Linked DNA regions of Homo sapiens: regions 1 and 3 are each linked to region 2. Evidence: promoter capture Hi-C in human tissues and cell types (Jung and others, 2019). All regions are on one chromosome and are shown on one strand. The core of a region is centred on a gene start or on the middle of the fragment in contact, and the rest is flanking DNA. Distances in the headings are between cores, read along the strand shown. Region 1 overlaps CPEB1 (cytoplasmic polyadenylation element binding protein 1). Region 2 holds the start of AP3B2 (adaptor related protein complex 3 subunit beta 2). Region 3 overlaps CPEB1 (cytoplasmic polyadenylation element binding protein 1).

Region 1 (3,403 bases), core at 741-3,240, 110 kb before region 2:
AAAGAAACTTAATAATTATCAGAGACTTCAGTGAGTCATAATCTTATTGCTGGTGGAGGGGTCTTGCCTCAATGTGCATGGCTGCTGACATAAGGGTGGTGGTTGCTGAAGGCTGGGTTAACTGCGGCAATTTCTTAAGACAACCATGATGTTTGCCGCATAGTTCGATTCTTCCTTTCATGAAAGATTTCTCTGTATCATGTGATGCTGTTTGATAACATTTTACCTACCATAGGAGAACTTTCAAAATTGGAGTCAATCCTCTCAAACTCTGCCTCTGCTTTATCAACTAACTTTATGTGGAAATTCTAAATCCTTTGTTGTCTTCAACAAAAATGTTCACAGCATCTGCACCAGGAGTAGATTCTATCAATAAACCATTCATCTGTAAGAAGCAATTCATCCCAAGTTTTATCATGAGATTGCAGCAAATTCAGTCACATCTTCAGGCTCCACTTTTAATCCTACTTCTCTTGCTATTTCCACCACGTGTGTAGTTACTTCCTCCACTGAAGCAGTGAGAACCCCTCAAAGTCATCTATGAAGTTTGGAATCAACTTCTTCCAAATTCCTATTCATGTTAATATTTTTACCTCCTCCCATGCATCACAAATGTTCTTAACAGTATCTAGAATAATGAATCCTTTCCAGAAGGTTTTCCCAGATCCATCAAAGGAATAACTATCAATGGCAGCTCTAGCCTTATGAAATGTATTTCTTAAATAATAAGACTTGAAAGTAAAAATTACTCCTTGATCCATAGGCTGCAAAACTGATCTTGTGTCAGCAGGCATGAAATCATTAATCTCCTTGTACATCTCCATCAAAGCTCGAGTGACCAAGTGCATTGTTAATGAGCAGTAATATTATGAAAGGAATCCCTTCTTGTCTGTACAGTAAGTCTCAACAGTGGGCTTTAAACATTCAGTTAGCCATAGTGCAAACAGATGTGCTGTCATGACTTTATTGTTCCATTTATAGAGCACAGGCAGAGTAGATTTAGCATGTTTCTTAAGGGCCCTAGAATCTTCAGAATGGTCGGTAAGCACTGGCCTCAACTTTAAAGTTACCAGTTTCATTAGCCTGTAACAAGAGAATCAGCCTGTTCTTCAAAGCTTTGAAGCCAGAAACTGACTTTTCCTCTCTAGCTAGGAAAGTCCTAGATGGCATCTTCTTCCAAGAGAAGGCTGTTTTCATCTACATTGAGAATCTGTTGTTGAGTGTAGCCATCTTACCAATGATCTTAGCTAGATCTTCTGGGTAACTTGCTGCAGCTTCTCCATCAGCACTTGCTGCTTCATCTTGCACATTTATGTTACGGAGACAGCTTCTTCCCTTAAACCTCATGAACCAAAAAAAAAGAAAAGAAAAGAAAAGAAAAAGAAAAACCTCATGAACCAACCTCTGCTAGCTTCCAAATTTTCTTGTGCAGCTTCCTCACCTCTCTCAGCCTTCTCAGAAGAGTGTTAGGGCCTTCCTCTGGATTAAGTTTTGGCATAAGGGAATGTTGTGGCTGATCTGATCTTCTATCTCGACTACTCAAACTTTCCCATATCAGCAAAAAGCCTGTCTTGCTTTCTTATCATTCATGTGCTTACCTGAGTAGCCCTTTTAGTTTACTGCAGGAACTTGTGCCTTGCATTCACAGCTTGACTATTTGGAACAAGAGGCCTAACTTTCGGCCTACCACAGCTTTCGACATGTCTTCCTCACTAAGCTTCATCATTTCTAGTTTTTGATGTAAACTGAGACACATGTGACTCTTCCCTTCACTTGAACACTTAGAGGCCATTGTAGGGTTATTAATTTTCCTAATTTCAATTTTGTTGTGTGTCAGGAAAGAGGGAGGCCCAAGAAAGTGGGAGAGAGACAGGAGAACGGCCGACTGGTGGAGCAGTCACAGCATACACAAAGTTTATCAATTAAGTTCACCATCTTACATGGGAATGGTTTGTGGCATGCCAAAACAATTACAATAGCAGCAAAGCAACAGTAAAATAAGTTGGAAATATTGGAAGAATTACCAGAATGTGGCACAGAAACATGAAGTAAGCACATACTTTTTGAAAAATGGCACCAACAGACTTGTTCAACACAGGATTACCACAAACCTTCAATTTGTATAAAACGCTGTATCTGTGAGGTGTGATAAAATAAAGCACAATAATATGAGGTATGCCTGTACTACATTCTGTTCATCCATTCATCACCAGTTAATAGACATTTGGATTGTTTCCACATTTGGGATATTATGAACGACACTGTTACAAATGCCCACCTATAAGTTTTTGTATGAACATTCGTTTTCATTTCTCTTAAGGAGTGAATTTCTGGGTCACATGGTGATTAACCTTGAGTAACCGCCAAATTGTTTTCCAAAACAGCTGCAACATTTCACATTAGCAATGTATAAGAGTTTCACTTTTTCTACATCCTGATCAACAATTGTTACTGCCTTTTTGCTACAGGCATCCTACCAGGTGTAAAGAGGCTCCACTGTTCAAAGATTGGACCATCTAAACAAAAAAGGGTAACTGCAATGGATCAAGACACATCAAACACATTAAATCTATGAGTTCACAATGATACTAAAAAACAACTTACTGGTCAACTTTGGAGAATGCTAGACAATCAGCTCAATATTATGAAAGAAAGTAAAGTAAAATAAGCATTTAATTGTGCTTGATTATTTGAAGAAACGTTCTCTTCTGGTTTACCAAATAGTTCATGAAATTAAGTTTATTTTTTAAAAAGCATATCAACTAATAAACGAAAAACAGAGAATTAGAAAACTGCTATTTGGCAACCTCTAATGTATCTAGGTAGTGACCATCAATGCCTGATGATATCACTAGAAAAGAAGTACTCAGTATCACCTACTAAGTATTCTTGCTAAGAAAGTCAAACCTAAGTCTGCTCAAGTCTCTAGCTATAATCACCAATTAACAGAAACTAGAGGGGGCCGAGGGACATGTGAAGTACTGCCATGGGAATGCAGTCAGTAAAATCTGTACTGCAGATAATTCCATAGAACACATGACCTACTTTTCTCAAAAAATTTATAGCAGAGGGCAGATGAAGAAAGCAATCCTAGCCTAAAAGCAACTTGAGACATAATCACAATCCTAACAATCACAGAATCACAATGCTATTCCTAAAGGATTCAAAACACAATTAGGTCTAATTTTTACTAAAGCTCACGAAAAATAAAGCAGTTAAGACAAGCATGTGGTGAAACTTGAACTGATTTATTCTCTTGATGGCATAATATTCTGACCGAATTCACTTGCAAATAAACTTCTGACATGAGAAGATTTAACTTGCAAATGCAAGTATTAATAAGCTTTCCATCTGAGAAAAAAAAGCCCAATTTGGAAAACATATGTACTAAAAAGTTCATTAA
Region 2 (3,454 bases), core at 593-3,092:
CCTCTGAGCCCAAGCTAAGCCATGATATCCCCTGTGACCTGCACGTATACATCCAGATGGCCTGAAGTAACTGAAGAGTGAAAATGGCCTGTGCCTGCCTTAACTGATGACATTATCTTGTGAAATTCCTTCTCCTGGCTCATCCTGGCTCAAAAGCTCCCCCACTGAGCACCTTGTGTCCCCCCACCGCCAGAGAACAACCCCCTTTGACTGTAATTTTCCACTACCTACCCAAATCCTGTAAAACGGTCCCACCCCATTTCCCTTCGCTGACTCTTTTTTCGGACTCAGCTGGCCTGCACCCAAGTGATTAAAAAGCTTTATTGTTCAAAGCCTGTTTGGTGGTCTCTTCACATGGACGTGCGTGAAAATCCTCATCTTCTCCCCCTGTCCCTCTAAACCCCCACCCAATATCCAATTAATCATCAGGTCTGAGGCTTCCACCTCTTCCACAGCCTCAAATCTTCTGCCTCTCCCCTGGTCTAGGCCACAATCATGCCAGGCCTGTGAACTTCAAGACCCACCTCCCTTGTCTCTTGTTCAATCTGGCCCACCTCCAATCTCTTCTCCACAATGCAGCAGCCTGACGTCCTTCTAAAATATAAATCTGATTATGTCGCCTGCTTAGAATCCTTCAGGAGTCCTCCCCACCCTCTTTTCTGGTCAGTCCAGTGGCTCACACAGATTGTGGCCTGGCTCTCAACCTTCCTGAAAGCCCTTTCCTCTGCCTGGAACATACCTCACGCTCCTGTCTTCCTTCTCTCCGGCGCCAGAGACTAGGTCCTCTCCCTGCTCCCACTGCCCCCATTACACTCGACTGTCCCTGACTGCTTCTTCATCTGTGCTCCCCTCTAGAGCATCGTGAGGACAAGAAGGGTCTCATGTTCACAGTTGTATTCCGTGACTAGTTCAGGACTCGACACAGTTGGCTTTTCATAAATGCTTGTTGCAGAATTTACGAATAAACAAATGAAGAAACAAACGAACGAATCAAAGGTGGGGGAGGGTGTGAAGGTGGAGCTGAACTACAGGGGCAATGCCAGGAGCAGGGATGTGAGGGTCAGATGGAGATGGGGACCAGAGGGAGGGGAAATGAATTTGCAGCAGGGCCAAGCTGGGAGGCTGTGCAAGTACATCCAGGGCCCGCCTTCCTGAAGAGGCCCCAGGCTCAAGCTCAAGTTCGCTGACTCAGACCCCTCCCCCACATTTTTGGGAAGCCAACCCGCCTAGCACGAAAAAGGAAGGGAACCCCTAACGCAACGCCGCAAACCGGAGAAACACCTGGAACCGGAGGGTTTCTCCTCTCGAAACTGAGCTGGCCCATCCCCCGCCAGCCCCTATCTGCCCCCCTCCGCGTCCTAGGCCGGCCCCTGGAGCCGGGGTGCCAGCGCTGCCCGCGCTGGGCCGGGGCTCCAGGCCGCAGGAGGGGGCCGGGCGGGCTTCCGGTCGGCGCGGCCGGGGCGGGGCCGGCGCTGGGGCCGGGCGCTGTCCATGGTGCCCGCGCGCCTCGCCCGGTCCCCGGCCCCAACCCTCCCGCGAGCTTCCTGGCGGGCTCCCTCACCGCTTGTAGTCGGAGGAGAAGATGCCGCCGCTCGCGGGGTCGTGGCCGTACTCGGGCTCCCCGGGGCCAGCGGAGCCGCCCTTGTCTTCGCTGTAGGCGGGGGCGGCCGACATGGGGCGGCCAGGGAGACTTCGCCGAGGAGGAGGTTGCGGGGCCGGAGGCCGGCTGGAGCGGAGGAAGGGAAGGCGGGCCGGTCCGGTCCGGGCTGGCGAAGGCGGCGGCGCGGCAGGGGTTCAGCAGAGGCTGCAGTGTGCAGCGGCGGAGGCTGCGCGCGGATTTCTCAATCAGGGCCGCGCGCTGAGGTCTTAAAGGCACCGGCGCCAGCCGAGCGGAGGGCGTGTCCGCGAGGAGGCGACAGGGGCGGTGCGTCAGGGCCTGGCCCCGCCCATCCCTAGGAAATGCCCTCTTCAGGGCGTCTTCTGCCCTTTAAAGCGACTTGGCTCGTCTCCAGATCTAAAGGTGGGCGAGTCTGCTGGACGGACGCTGGGACCGTCTTGCAGGGGATGTGGAATAGCTGCCCCCACCCCCGACCACCTGGCCTCGGCGGGACGGGCCTCTGGGGCTCCGCTCTCCCCAGACGCACGCGCGGATGCTCACCCACGCCGTGGAGGGAAAGCGGGAACTGGAAAGAAGGCTGTGCCCGCAGGCTGGGGGTTCTAGAGCGGGAAGGGGTCACCGCACCCGAGGACCGGCCTCAGATACCTAAGGACGCTCCCTTTCCCGCCCCACCTTTCCTACAAAATCTGGCTTGGCAGCAGGAAGCCGAGGAGCTTCCTGGAGGTGGCGGAATTTAAGGAATTAAGGTCAGGGAGCTCCGAGGAGCCCTTGGGGGCTTAGAGAGATGGGAAACAGGATACAGAGGACGGTGAACATCTAATTAAGCTTTGGAAAGTAGTTTAATGAATCTTTCTGAAGCCTCCACGTCCACCCAGGAGGGCCAAGGTCATGCTTAATCCGGGGACACGTCCACGTCCATTGACACCTGAAAAGGAAGAGAAGGGTCTGGTGTGACCACCAGGGCTCCTGAGTCATGTGAGCCCTCCAGTTCAGCTCCCGAGCCCGAGTGACCCCTAGGCCCAAGGAAGGAAGGCTTGGATCCGATGGAAAGTAGTGAATTGGGCTGGGGGAAGAGGTAGGATCCAGTTGGGCATCAGTTGAGGTGGCTGGAGTCTTTTAGCTGGGCATGGGGACTGGAGGAGTTCCTAAGGCCTGAGTCTTGGTCTGTAACTAGCATCCCGAAGTCTCCATGGGCAGAATTGGCGGGCCTACCTGGGAAGGAGTGGGGCCCAGAAAGGTGGAGCTTGGCTCAGTAGAAAAGTTCTATTGGGGGTAATTCTACTGGGGTAAGGTTCTATTGGGGTAATGAGAAGGTTCTGTTGGGATAACCTAGACAAGTGGGTGGGTCCGCTTGGTTCCGGTGGCTTTGTGCCTGCCAGAGAAAAGTGGATCTTGAATTTGGAGAAAACTGGCCTGGGTGGGGAGTGGGAAGAGAAGGGCCTGGATTTTGCAGTTGCGCGTTTATAAGGCGCTTTGGCTAGTCTGCTCAGGAGGTGGGATGGGTCCTGTGCAGGTAGCTGGGCCACGCTCACCGACCTGCTGGAGCTCCCGTCTATTTGCCGGGGGTCCAGGCTGGGACCTGGGACGAGCAGACACAGTGCAAAGTGCACACAGTTGCTGCGCATGGAGTGATAGGATGGTGGGTCCGCGTCCGTCGCTTCGCTCACTCTGCGCAGCACGCGCCAGCAGGAGCGCAGCAGCGGGCGCTGCCCCTGTTTGGATACGATGCCTTTCCAGGAGCCCAGAAACTTCCCAGGAGCCCACAGCCTCCTGAGTTCTTGCCTGCGGGGATCGCCAGAGGGGTGCGGATCAGAGCCAGGCTTAGGTCCTATGCCC
Region 3 (3,250 bases), core at 485-2,984, 95 kb before region 2:
AACAAACAAACAAACAAAACAAACAAACAAAAAACTGAATCCACATTTTAAAAACTGTTCCTCAAAAAAACAAAAACAAACAAAAACACACTCCAGGCCCAAGTGGCTTCAGCAATGAATTATATCAAAATTTAAGGAAGACTATTATAAATTTCACACAAGCTCTTCTCAAGAACAGCGAGGAAAAAAAAAAACTTTTCAAGAAGCTAATGATTTGCTTCAAGAAGCTAACGACTCTGACACCAGGGATATTTTAAGGAAAGAAAATTACAAGCTTATCTCTTATGTGCATGAATACAAAAATCCTGAAGACAACATTTACAAATGAAATCCAAACAATATACTAAATAAAATATATTATGAACAACTTGAGTTAATTCCAGGAATGCGAAGTTGGCTTTACTTTGGTATTCTTTCCTGAATGTTATTCCTACATCTATAGAATAAAGGAGAAAGGTTAAATGAATAGATGCAGAAAAGCTGATATAATTTAATAACATTCATGATTTTATGTTTGTTTTCTTGGGGGTTTTTTTGTTTTGTTTTGTTTTTTTGGAGACAGTGTCTGGCTGTGTCACCCAGGCTGGAGTGCAGCGGCACGATCTTGGCTCACTGCAATCTCCACCTCCTGAGCTCAAGCGATCCTCCCACCTCAGCCCCAAGTAACTGGGACTACAGGTACGTGCCACCACACCCGGCTTTTCATACTTTTGTACAGATGGGGTTTCACTACATTGCCCAGGCTGGTCTCTAACCACCTCAACCTCCCCAAGTGCTGGGATTATAGACATGAGCCACTGCATCCTGCAGATTTTCTTTTTTTAAAAGCCTCTTGGCAAAGTCTGAAAAGAACTTTCTTAATCAGATAAAAAACATTCACAACTTCAGCATATTTAAAGGAGAAATGCTAAGAAGTTCACTCACAACCCCTCCCCTAAGACTGGAAACAAGCTCCCCCCGGGGAGAGAGACACTCACCCTGGATGGGAGCCTGGAACTCTACCACCCCGCCCCGCTCCCCCCTCAATGCCCCCCTGGGACAGCCCGGGAGGCTGCCAGGAAGGGACTGGCCTCCTTGGGAGGCTCCCAGGATCCTCTTCAGCCTCGCTGCTTCTGAGTCCCTGCCGGCAAGCCTCCGCCAAGCAGTGGCCTTGCTGATGCCTGGGGAAGCCCACCGGGAGAGAGACACACACCCTGGGTGGGACCCTGGGGCTCTAAGACTCCCTACCCTGGGACGGCCCCAGGGGCTGCTGGAAAGGGACTGGCCTCCTCGGGAGGCTCCCAGCGTCCTCTTCGTCACTCCTAACCACATAAAAATATGGGTCTTGCTCCCAGGCTGGAGTGCAGCAGCATTATCACAGCTCACTGAAGCCTCGAACTCCTGGGCTCAAGTGACCCTCTCACCTTAACCTCCCAAAGTGCTGGGATTACAGGCACGAGCCACTGCACCCAGCTGTAATATTCTATTTCTTGACCTGGGTAGTGGTTATGTGGGTGTCTGCTGTATAACTGATTAAAATATACAGGTGTTTTATGCAAGTTTCCATATATTCTATGTTTAACAATTTGGAAAAGTCCATCAAACTAGTCCAAGAATTAAACAAAACACAATGATAATCTAAGTAATCACTAAAAATTACTGAAGTCTAAATAAATACTGATTGTGAACACATACATACACACAAAACTGCAAGTAAATTCCTAGATATTATCAGTACCAAATGTGGGGGGGAGTACAATTTGAACACAAAATGAGGGCCTTTTTCAGCTTAGGCACCCAGTTTGAGAGAATGTATTCATTAAGCAATTGTATAATGTTACCTAACATGCACCAGGCCCAATACTGAGGATTAGAAATCCAAGGATTTCAAAAGATCTTTAAAAAAAAGAAAGAAAGAAACGAAACGAAACCCAAGGATATTTAAGACCTAGTCCTTACACATTCTTCAAGAGACTTACAGTATAAACAGAAAACCTAGTTCAACTCTTTAAAATATAAGTGTGTGTGTGTGTGTGTGTGTGTGTGTGTGTATATATATATATGACCTCAGCCAACGCTCTCACAACTGCATCTTTATATACCCACACTATCACAATCACTATCACCATTTAGTAAGTGCAGTTATGTGCATCATTGTAGATAGTATTCAATACAAATCTTATTTAAGCTTCACAAAACCCCTACAAATGGGTACTATTTCTACCTATGTGTCTAAAGAGGAAATTTAAACTCAGAGTGTAAGCCAAGGTCACAGCAAGTAAGTAGCACGACCAGAATTTGTTCTCAGGTCATCTGCATTCAGAGCCTGTACCCTATCTTTGTTTGGGTTTATTATGAAACGGACAATGTTTTTTCAAAACTGTACCCTATCCTCCCATTTTAAGAATGTATATGTTTACACCACCACATGATGGATCCACAAATAAACACGAAGAGCCAAGAAGGACCTTGCTTCATCTCACAGATTGACAGACTACAGAACATTGGAGGCAGGACAGTGTTATAAAGTTTCTGAAGTGACAACCAAGCCAACTTTGAATAAAATAATTTTTTCTAGGAAGACAGTCAATTTAGTTGTCAACTATGTAGCAGAAGAGCATTCATTGCACAACTTCATCTGTCAGTGATTTTAATTATATAATATGCATGGAATGTCAAGAAACAGCAGACAGAATGGCATAAAGGGAAAGAACCCTGGGACACAATTCTAGAAACTTACTCTGGGTTGATGCCAGATCATATATGCTACACGTATTATTTTAACTTCAGAAAATATTTTATAATATAAAGAAAACAAAATCAAGTTGGATTTACAGCTATATCAACTGGAATTTTGAAGTATGACAACATCTAGAGTCTACATGGAATGTGACTGAAAACTCATGAAATCCTAGCAGGATTATAAACTGGTAAATGCACTTTGAAAAAGTACCCAGCAACTTGAAGTGTGAAGACAATATACCAAACTCTGCAATTAACTTCTAGGTACATACTCAAGGAAGCTCTTGTGATGTGGGCACAGGAGACTTAAACAAGGATGTTCACCAAAATACTGTTTATAATAGCAAAAAATATATATTTACCTAAATACAGCAAAAAATATACACCTAAACATTTACCAAGAGGAATATTGTATATATTTATGTAAAATATTACTACAAAGCAATTAAAATGTATTGATTTTACTTACAAATAACTATCAATATGTACACATTATAAATATGACACATGGAGAAAAGCAAATGCCAGG

What was found. Contacts are between HindIII fragments. The study calls those that stand out against the background at their distance.
Region 1: a fragment that was not itself captured here is called in contact with the fragment with the promoter of AP3B2 in region 2 in 5 of the 25 tissues and cell types used here (dorsolateral prefrontal cortex, mesenchymal stem cells, psoas muscle and 2 more).
Region 3: a fragment that was not itself captured here is called in contact with the fragment with the promoter of AP3B2 in region 2 in 3 of the 25 tissues and cell types used here (hippocampus, mesenchymal stem cells and small bowel).

Annotation. Positions count from the first base shown.
Region 1 is chr15:82,593,008-82,596,410 of GRCh38, forward strand. The region is part of intron 3 of CPEB1 (cytoplasmic polyadenylation element binding protein 1); the gene reads right to left. Among named protein-coding and RNA genes, the nearest start is that of CPEB1, 53 kb to the right of the region's middle. The HindIII fragment of the contact is 4,275 bases long and covers 1-3,403 here.
Region 2 is chr15:82,708,033-82,711,486 of GRCh38, forward strand. AP3B2 (adaptor related protein complex 3 subunit beta 2) reads right to left here and starts at 1,843. Exons shown (of 27, transcript NM_001278512.2): 1 at 1,562-1,843. The coding sequence starts at 1,674. It also overlaps the pseudogene LOC338963. RefSeq lists silencers at 1,367-1,626, 1,847-1,896. The HindIII fragment of the contact is 10,798 bases long and covers 1-3,454 here.
Region 3 is chr15:82,612,851-82,616,100 of GRCh38, forward strand. The region is part of intron 3 of CPEB1 (cytoplasmic polyadenylation element binding protein 1); the gene reads right to left. Among named protein-coding and RNA genes, the nearest start is that of CPEB1, 33 kb to the right of the region's middle. The HindIII fragment of the contact is 3,936 bases long and covers 1-3,250 here.